Regions from separate parts of the Homo sapiens genome. Here region 2 is linked to region 1. The links are contacts of gene promoters, found by promoter capture Hi-C in blood cells and fetal thymus (Javierre and others, 2016). All regions are on one chromosome and are shown on one strand. Each heading gives the region's core, a stretch centred on a gene start or on the middle of the fragment in contact. The rest is flanking DNA. Distances are from core to core; before and after follow the strand shown.

Evidence for each region. Contacts are between HindIII fragments. The CHiCAGO score rates a contact against its expected background, and 5 or more counts as called.
Region 2: a contact is called between a fragment that was not itself captured here and the fragment with the promoter of MRI1 in region 1, in 3 of 17 cell types (neutrophils, naive CD8 T cells and non-activated CD4 T cells). The highest score is 6.0, in neutrophils.

The regions. Positions count from the first base shown.
Region 1 is chr19:13,762,719-13,766,093 of GRCh38, reverse strand. It overlaps MRI1 (methylthioribose-1-phosphate isomerase 1), which reads right to left and starts at 1,572. Exons shown (of 6, transcript NM_001031727.4): 1 at 1,374-1,572; 2 at 985-1,223; 3 at 1-140. The coding sequence starts at 1,505. It overlaps YJU2B (YJU2 splicing factor homolog B), which reads right to left. Exons shown (of 10, transcript NM_030818.4): 10 at 2,805-3,375. The coding sequence ends at 3,026. RefSeq lists enhancers at 1-375, 2,845-3,361 and a silencer at 1,153-1,202. The HindIII fragment of the contact is 24,803 bases long and covers 1-2,742 here.
Region 2 is chr19:14,139,031-14,142,420 of GRCh38, reverse strand. All of the region lies in intron 1 of ADGRL1-AS1 (ADGRL1 antisense RNA 1), which reads right to left. Among named protein-coding and RNA genes, the nearest start is that of ADGRL1-AS1, 3.6 kb to the right of the region's middle. The HindIII fragment of the contact is 2,934 bases long and covers 1-2,850 here.

The DNA of each region.
Region 1 (3,375 bases), core at 323-2,822:
CAGTGTTACAGTGGGTCAGCACAGTCACCTTGCCACCGCTGGGGGCCACCCGCTCCAGGAGGTGGCGGGCTCCTAGGTCCCCAATGCTTCGGTTGTCTCTGAGGTCTTTCTCCAGCATGTCCTCGGTGCAGCAGATCACTCTGGGGTGACAAGGAGTTTTCAGCACCAGCCACCAGGACCCGGGGCCCAGGCCAACGCCTCCTCTCTGCCTAACGCTGCTGTCCTGGAGCCCTCCTGCTCAAAGCCTCTCATTGCTGTGGGGCCTGGACCCTTCGGCCAGGGCCACCGAAGTGTCACTCCGTTCATTCATGCAAAGACATGTTTACCAAGCAGTTCCGGTATGACCCAGCAGTAAACAAGACAAAAATCTCTGCTCCTGTGGAGTTGACACTGGGGTGAGTGAGCCAGCTGATGAAGAGATAATAAAATGAAGGAAAAGCCGGCAGAATCAGGCAACAGAGAGCAGCGGGTGAGCTGGATCATATAGAATGGTGGAGGAGGGCGCTATGGATACCTGGCCCGCACCAATGGCACGTGCAAAGGCTGTAAGGCAGGCTCGAGCTTGGTGGGGTAAAGTGACATTGCAGGGAGGGCTGGAGCAGAAAGGAAGTGGGGGGAAAAAGATGGCAGGAAGGGGACCAGGACAGGAAAAAAAGTTCCTCAAAAGCAGAAACCAAGAGAACACGGAGATACTAAAAAGGGCCTCCAAGGGCGGATAAGGGGCTGCGTGTATTCAGGGGAGGCACGATTAAGGAGTTAGGTTTCAGGGCCAGGCTGCCCAGGCTAGACTCTGGGCCCCATCTGTGGGGCCCTGGACAAGGGACTTAAGGTCGCCGTGCCTCAGTCTCCCCATCTGTGGGGCCCTGGACAAGGGACTTAAGGTCGCCGTGCCTCAGTTTCCCCATCTGTATAGTGGGTCACTGTACTTAAAAAGAGTCAATATAATTCCTGCTCAGCGCCGTGCCTGGTACCAGATCCCCGTACCTCTCCCGGACCGCCTCTTCCGTAGCGCCCTCCCGTTCGGCCTCCCGGGCTGCAACATCAGCCAGGTCGCGGGCGGCGCGGGCCATGTTGACAGCGGTGGGCCGGGCGGTGACGAGGAAGCTCAGCTTGTCGCGCACGAAGGCCACGAGCGCGGCGAGTCCCGGTCCCCCGGCGCCCGCCTGCAGCTCCACGGCGAGGCTGAGACAGCCCACCAGGGCTATGGCCGGGGCGCCCCGCACCTGCGGGGCAGGGATTTGGGCGTCGGAAGCTGCAGGCGCGGGCGCACTCCCACCTCCAACCCGGCCGCCCCGCCGCCCCGCCGCCCCGCCGCCCCGCCGCCCCGCCGCCCCGCCGCCCCGCCGCCCCGCCGCCCCGCCGCCCCGCTGCACCTTCATGGCGCGGATGGCCTCCCAGGCCTGGTGCACCGAGCCCACCGCCTCGTAGCGGCTCTGCTTGGGCAGCAGCAGCTGGTCTAGGATCTGCAGGGAGCCCCGCGAGTAGCGGATCGCCTCCAGGGTCATGGTGCAGCAGCCAAGCCCAGCGCAACTCAGAGGGAGCTAGGGGTCCGCGCGCACTTGGGAGCGGGGCGGGGCCGTGGGCGGAGCCTCCCCCGGAAAAAGAGACACGCACATGCGCATCCAACCCGATTCCACGGGTTCCCAGGAGGCGGATTCCACGGGTTCCCAGGAGGCGGATTCCACGGGTTCCCAGGAGGCGGATTCCACGGGTTCCCAGGAGGCGGATTCCACGGGTTCCCAGGAGGCGGATTCCACGGGTTCCCAGGACGCGGATTCCACGGGTTCCCAGGACGCGGATTCCACGTGGCCGAACCCACTCCACGACTCCTGCCAAGCCCGAACGGAGTGAGCCGCCTCCTCGGAACCACAAAAGTGGCAGCATTTATGGGACGCCTAGTGGATACCAGGCCCCGTGTTTAACAACCTGCTGTCTAGAGTTAGGGATGTATCCCCAGTGGCAAGGTAACATCAAGTGTTCAAACCAAAGAATTTGTTAAATGATCTTCCAAGGTTGAGGGGGAGGTAGTGGGGGGTCGTGTGCCCCTTGATGGATGCAAGGCTGTTTCTGGGCCATTTTCTGCTCGGTTTCATTCAAAAGTAACATGCAGGACAGGCGCTGTGGCTCACGCCTGGAATCCCAGCATTTTGGGAGGCCGAGTCGGGCAGATCACTTGAGGTCAGGAGTTCGAGACCAGCCTGGCCAACATGGTGAAACCCAGTCTCTACTAAAAATACAAAAAATTAGCTGGGCGTGGTGGCGCACACCCGTAGTCCCAGCTGCTCGGGAGGCTGAGGCAGAAGAATCACTTGAACCCAGGAGGCAGAGGTTGCAGTGAGCCGAGATCGCGCCACTGCACTCCAGCCTGGGTGACAGAGCAAGACTCGGTCTCAAAAACAAAACAAAAAAACCCCAAAAGTAACATGCACGGGGGGCTTTTCCATGGGCCACCCCTGGGCTGGGTATAATAAAAAGCTCACACCTGTGTGCTCCAGCCCCTGCTGCATCTGGCACACATCCTGGGTACCCCGTGTGCCTTGTCCCTGGCCTTGTGTGTGTGGTTCCTGGCCCCCTTTTCACCCTTCACACTTGGCCCATGCCTCCTCCTCCAGGAAGTCTGTCCTGATTCCTGGCCAACCGGGACCACCACCTTGAGACTCTTGTTACTCTGGAAGGGGACCATGTCTGTGGTCACAGCTATGACCCTATACCAGCATTTGCTGATGAGAGGCCTACCAAGCTTGGTCAAGGTGGGGGGGTGGGGGGGCAGCCCCAGGGTCCATCTAACAACCCAAGACAGGGAAGAAGAGACAGGTCTTTAATGTACGGAGTCTCACAAGGCACAAACACCCTCACCAGGACCAAATAAATAACTCCACGGTTGCAGGAAGGCGCGGTCTGGGGAGGATGCGGCATCTGAGCTCTCCCAGGGCTGGTGGGCGAGCCGGGGGTCTGCAGTCTGTGAGGGGCCTCCTGGGTGTGTCCGGGCCTCTAGAGCGGGTCCAGTCTCCAGGATGGGGATCGCTCACTCACTCTCCGAGTCGGAGTAGTCCGCCACGAGGGAGGAGCCGAGACTGCAGGGGTGCCGCGTGTCGGGGGTGTCAGCTGCCTCCTGGGAGGAGCCTGCTGGCGACAGGGGCTTGTCCTGACGGCTCCCTTCCTGCCCCCTCGGGCTGCTGCACTTGGGGGTCTCAGTTGTTTCCGGAGGACAGTCTCCGGGGGACATGGGCCGGTCCTGGGCAGCCTCCTCTGGTACCCGCGGTTCCCCAGACTTGGGGGTGTCGGCCGCATGCTGGGGGCTCTCCGGGACGTCCCGAGACCTCCGCCGCACGATGCCCAGGTCCCCGACGGTGATGGGGGAGGTGGCAAGCGCGG
Region 2 (3,390 bases), core at 134-2,633, 380 kb before region 1:
ACCAGGGAAGCTCATTACTCAGTGACCAGAGTTGTACTTGGGGGTGGTCGTGTACCAAAATGCCAGACTCCAGAAGGAGAGCAGGTGTTCAACATGAACCACATTGTTGGTGGAAACAGTTTAGGCACTCATCATTTGGGGAACGGCAGGAACCCTCCTGAAATCCAAGTTCCTAGATATCAGCCAAGGGCCAATCTTGCAAACAGGTCTTTCTAAGGATAGCAGTCTCAGGCCTGCTAGGTTAACTCTAAATTGCGCAGACACCATTTATATAAAAGTATAGAACATGACAAACAATACTATATATTGTTTAAAGATACACGCCGATATGCACAGAAGACTGTAAACACCAAATTCAGGGTTGTGGTTACATGTGAGGAAAAAGGAAGAGGAATGGGTTTGATGTAGGGGTATAGGGCCCTTCAGTTGCATCTCTAATGTTTTAGCTGTTAAGCTGGGTAACAGTATTTTGCTATAGCACTTCTTATACTTTCTCGAGCATGTGTGCACCTGAAGTATTAAACAAGAATGAAGACGTATCTGCTTATTACTATATGCTACTAACAGTTCAGTCTTTTGTTTGTTTTTAGACAGGGTCTCACTCTGTTGCCTAGCTAAGCTGGAGTGCAGTGGTGAGATCTTGGTTCACTGCAACCTCTGCCCCCAGGGCTCAAGCAATCCTCTCACCTCAGCCTCCTGAGTAGCTGGGACCACAGGCACATGCCACCACACCCGGCTAATTTTTTTATGTTTTGTAGAGACAGGGTTTTGCCCAGGCTGGTCTCGAACTCCTGAGGTCAAGCAATCTACCCGCCTCAGCCTCCCAAAGTGCTGGGATTACAGGCGTGAGCCACTGCACCTGGCTGGTTCATGTTTATTGAGTACTTTTCACATTCCAGGTACTATGCTAAACCCACCCTTTACATAGATTTATTCTTTTTTTTTTTGAGACGGAGTCTTCCTCTGTCACCAGACTGGAGTGCAGTGGTGCAATCTAGGCTCACTGCAACCTCCACCTCCCAGGTTCAAGCAATTCCCCTGCCTCAGCCTCCCAAGTAGCTAGGACTACAGGTACGCACCACCACGGCTGGCTAATTTTTTGTATTTTAGTAGAGACAGGTTTTAATCATGTTTGCCATGATGGTCTCGATCTCCTGACCTGGTAATCCGCCCACCTCGGCCTCCCAGAGTGTGTGACTCACTGCGCCCAGCCAGATTTATTCTTTTTGAAAAATTGATTGAGGACTTTCTATGAGCCACGTCCTCTGCTAAGCTCTGGAAGTACAACATTGAGAGGTGTGAGCTAGGCGAGATCTCTTCTCACAACCAGCTTTCAATCTACTGAGGGATGATGAGATAATAAGCACAATTTAAAACCAAAATAAGTAGAAATTCTTTTTTTCTTTTTAAGATGGAATCTCTCTCAGTTGCCCAGGCTTGAGTGCAGTGGCGTGATCTCGGCTCATTGCAGCCTCTGCCTCCCCGGTTCAAGCAATTCTTCTGCCTCCTGAGCAGCTGGGACTACAGGCACGTGCCACCACGCCCAGCTAATTTATTTATTTATTTATTTATTTATTTTGTATTTTTTTTTTTTAGTAGAAACGGGGTCTTGCCATGTTGGCCAGGCTGGTCTCGAACTCCTGACCTCAAGTGACCGGCCCGCCTTGGCCTCCTAAAGTGCTGGGATTATAGGTGTGAGCCACCATGCCCACCCGAAAATAAGTACAAATTCTGATATGCGTTACTAAGATCATAAAACTGAGTGATGTGATTAAGAAAAAGCTACTTTATTTATTTATTTATTTTTTTTGACACGGAGTCTTGCTCTGTCACCCAGGCTGGATTGCAGAGGCACGATCTCAGCTCACTGCAACCCTCACCTCTCAGATTCAAGCGATTCACCTGCCTCAGCCTCCCAAGTAGCTGGGACTACAGGCGCCCGCCACCACGCCCGGCTAATTTTTTGTATTTTTAGTAGAGATGCGGTTTCACCATGTTAGCCAGGATGGTCTCGATCTCCTGACCTCGTGATCCGCCTGCCTTGGCCTCCCAAAGTGCTGGGATTACAGGCATGAGCCACCGCGCCCGGCCAAGAAAGTGCTACTTTAAATAGGGTACTCTGGGAAGTCTTCTTTCAGAGGACATTTGAGCTGAACCACAAGCGAAGAGAAAGAGACAGCCATGCAATTATCTGGAGGAAGCACATTCCAGGCAGAGGGAACGGCAAGTGCAAAGCCCTGCGGCAGAAATAAGCTGGGTGTGTTGAAAGAAGGGAAATAAAGCCAGCTGGGCTTGAGAGCGGTGACAAGAGGAAGAATGGTAGATGAGGCCTGAGAGGTCAGCTGAGGCCACCACGCAGGGCCGCCTAAGCCATAGGAAAGATCTTAGGTTTCATTCTAAGTAGGATAAGCCTCTGAAGGTTTTAAGCAGAGTAATGACATGATCTGGTTTACAAGTGAAGATCATTCAGCCAGCTGTAAGGAGAATGCATCATAGACAGGGCCACATTCTTCATTAGCGCCACGGAAATAATGCTGGTGGATCATGAGCTTCTCAGGGGCTACGAAAAGGTCAGGGACAGGGATAAAGGGAAAAAAGTTCCACAATGCAAAGAGAAAACTACAAAGTTGGAATGAATAAATGTTTAATTAAGCATCTAGAAATGTGACATCATGACAACTGCATTAATCATTAAATTTAGTATTCATAAGCAATCGAATTACATTTGGAAATTAGATTTTCTCAAATCACAAATATCCCTAAGTATGCAATGATTGCCAAGAAATCAAGCGAATCATAAATGTGAGTTTCCTTGAAGCCAAATAATTTCAAAAGAATAAAAACAAAGCTTTCGATTTTTTAACAGCTAAAAAGAATTTTTCTTAACTTAATGTGAGATGTAGATACCAAAAATGGGCTAGGCGCTGTAATCCCAGCACTTAAGGACAAGATAGGTGGACTGCTTGAGGCCAGGAGTTTCAAGACCAGCCTGGGCAACAGCGAGACCCTGTCTCTACAAAAAATTTAAAAAGTATAAGAGGCAGGGCACGGTGGCTCATGCCTGTAATCTCAGCACTTTGGGCGGCCGAGGTGAGTGGATCACCTGAGGTCAGGAGTTTGAGACCAGCCTGGCCAACATAGTGAAACCCCATCTTTACTAAAAATACAAAAATTAGCTGGGTAAGGTAGCGTGTGCCTGTAGTCCCAGCTACTCGGGAGGCTGAGGTGGGAGAATCGCTTGAAGCTGGAAGCAGGAGGTTGCAGTGAGCTGAGATTGCGCCACTGCATTCCAGCCTGAGTGACAGAGCAAGACTCCCTCTCAAAAAAAAAATAAAATAAAATAAAACAAATTAGGCATGGTGGCACGCACTGGTGATCCCAGCCACTCGG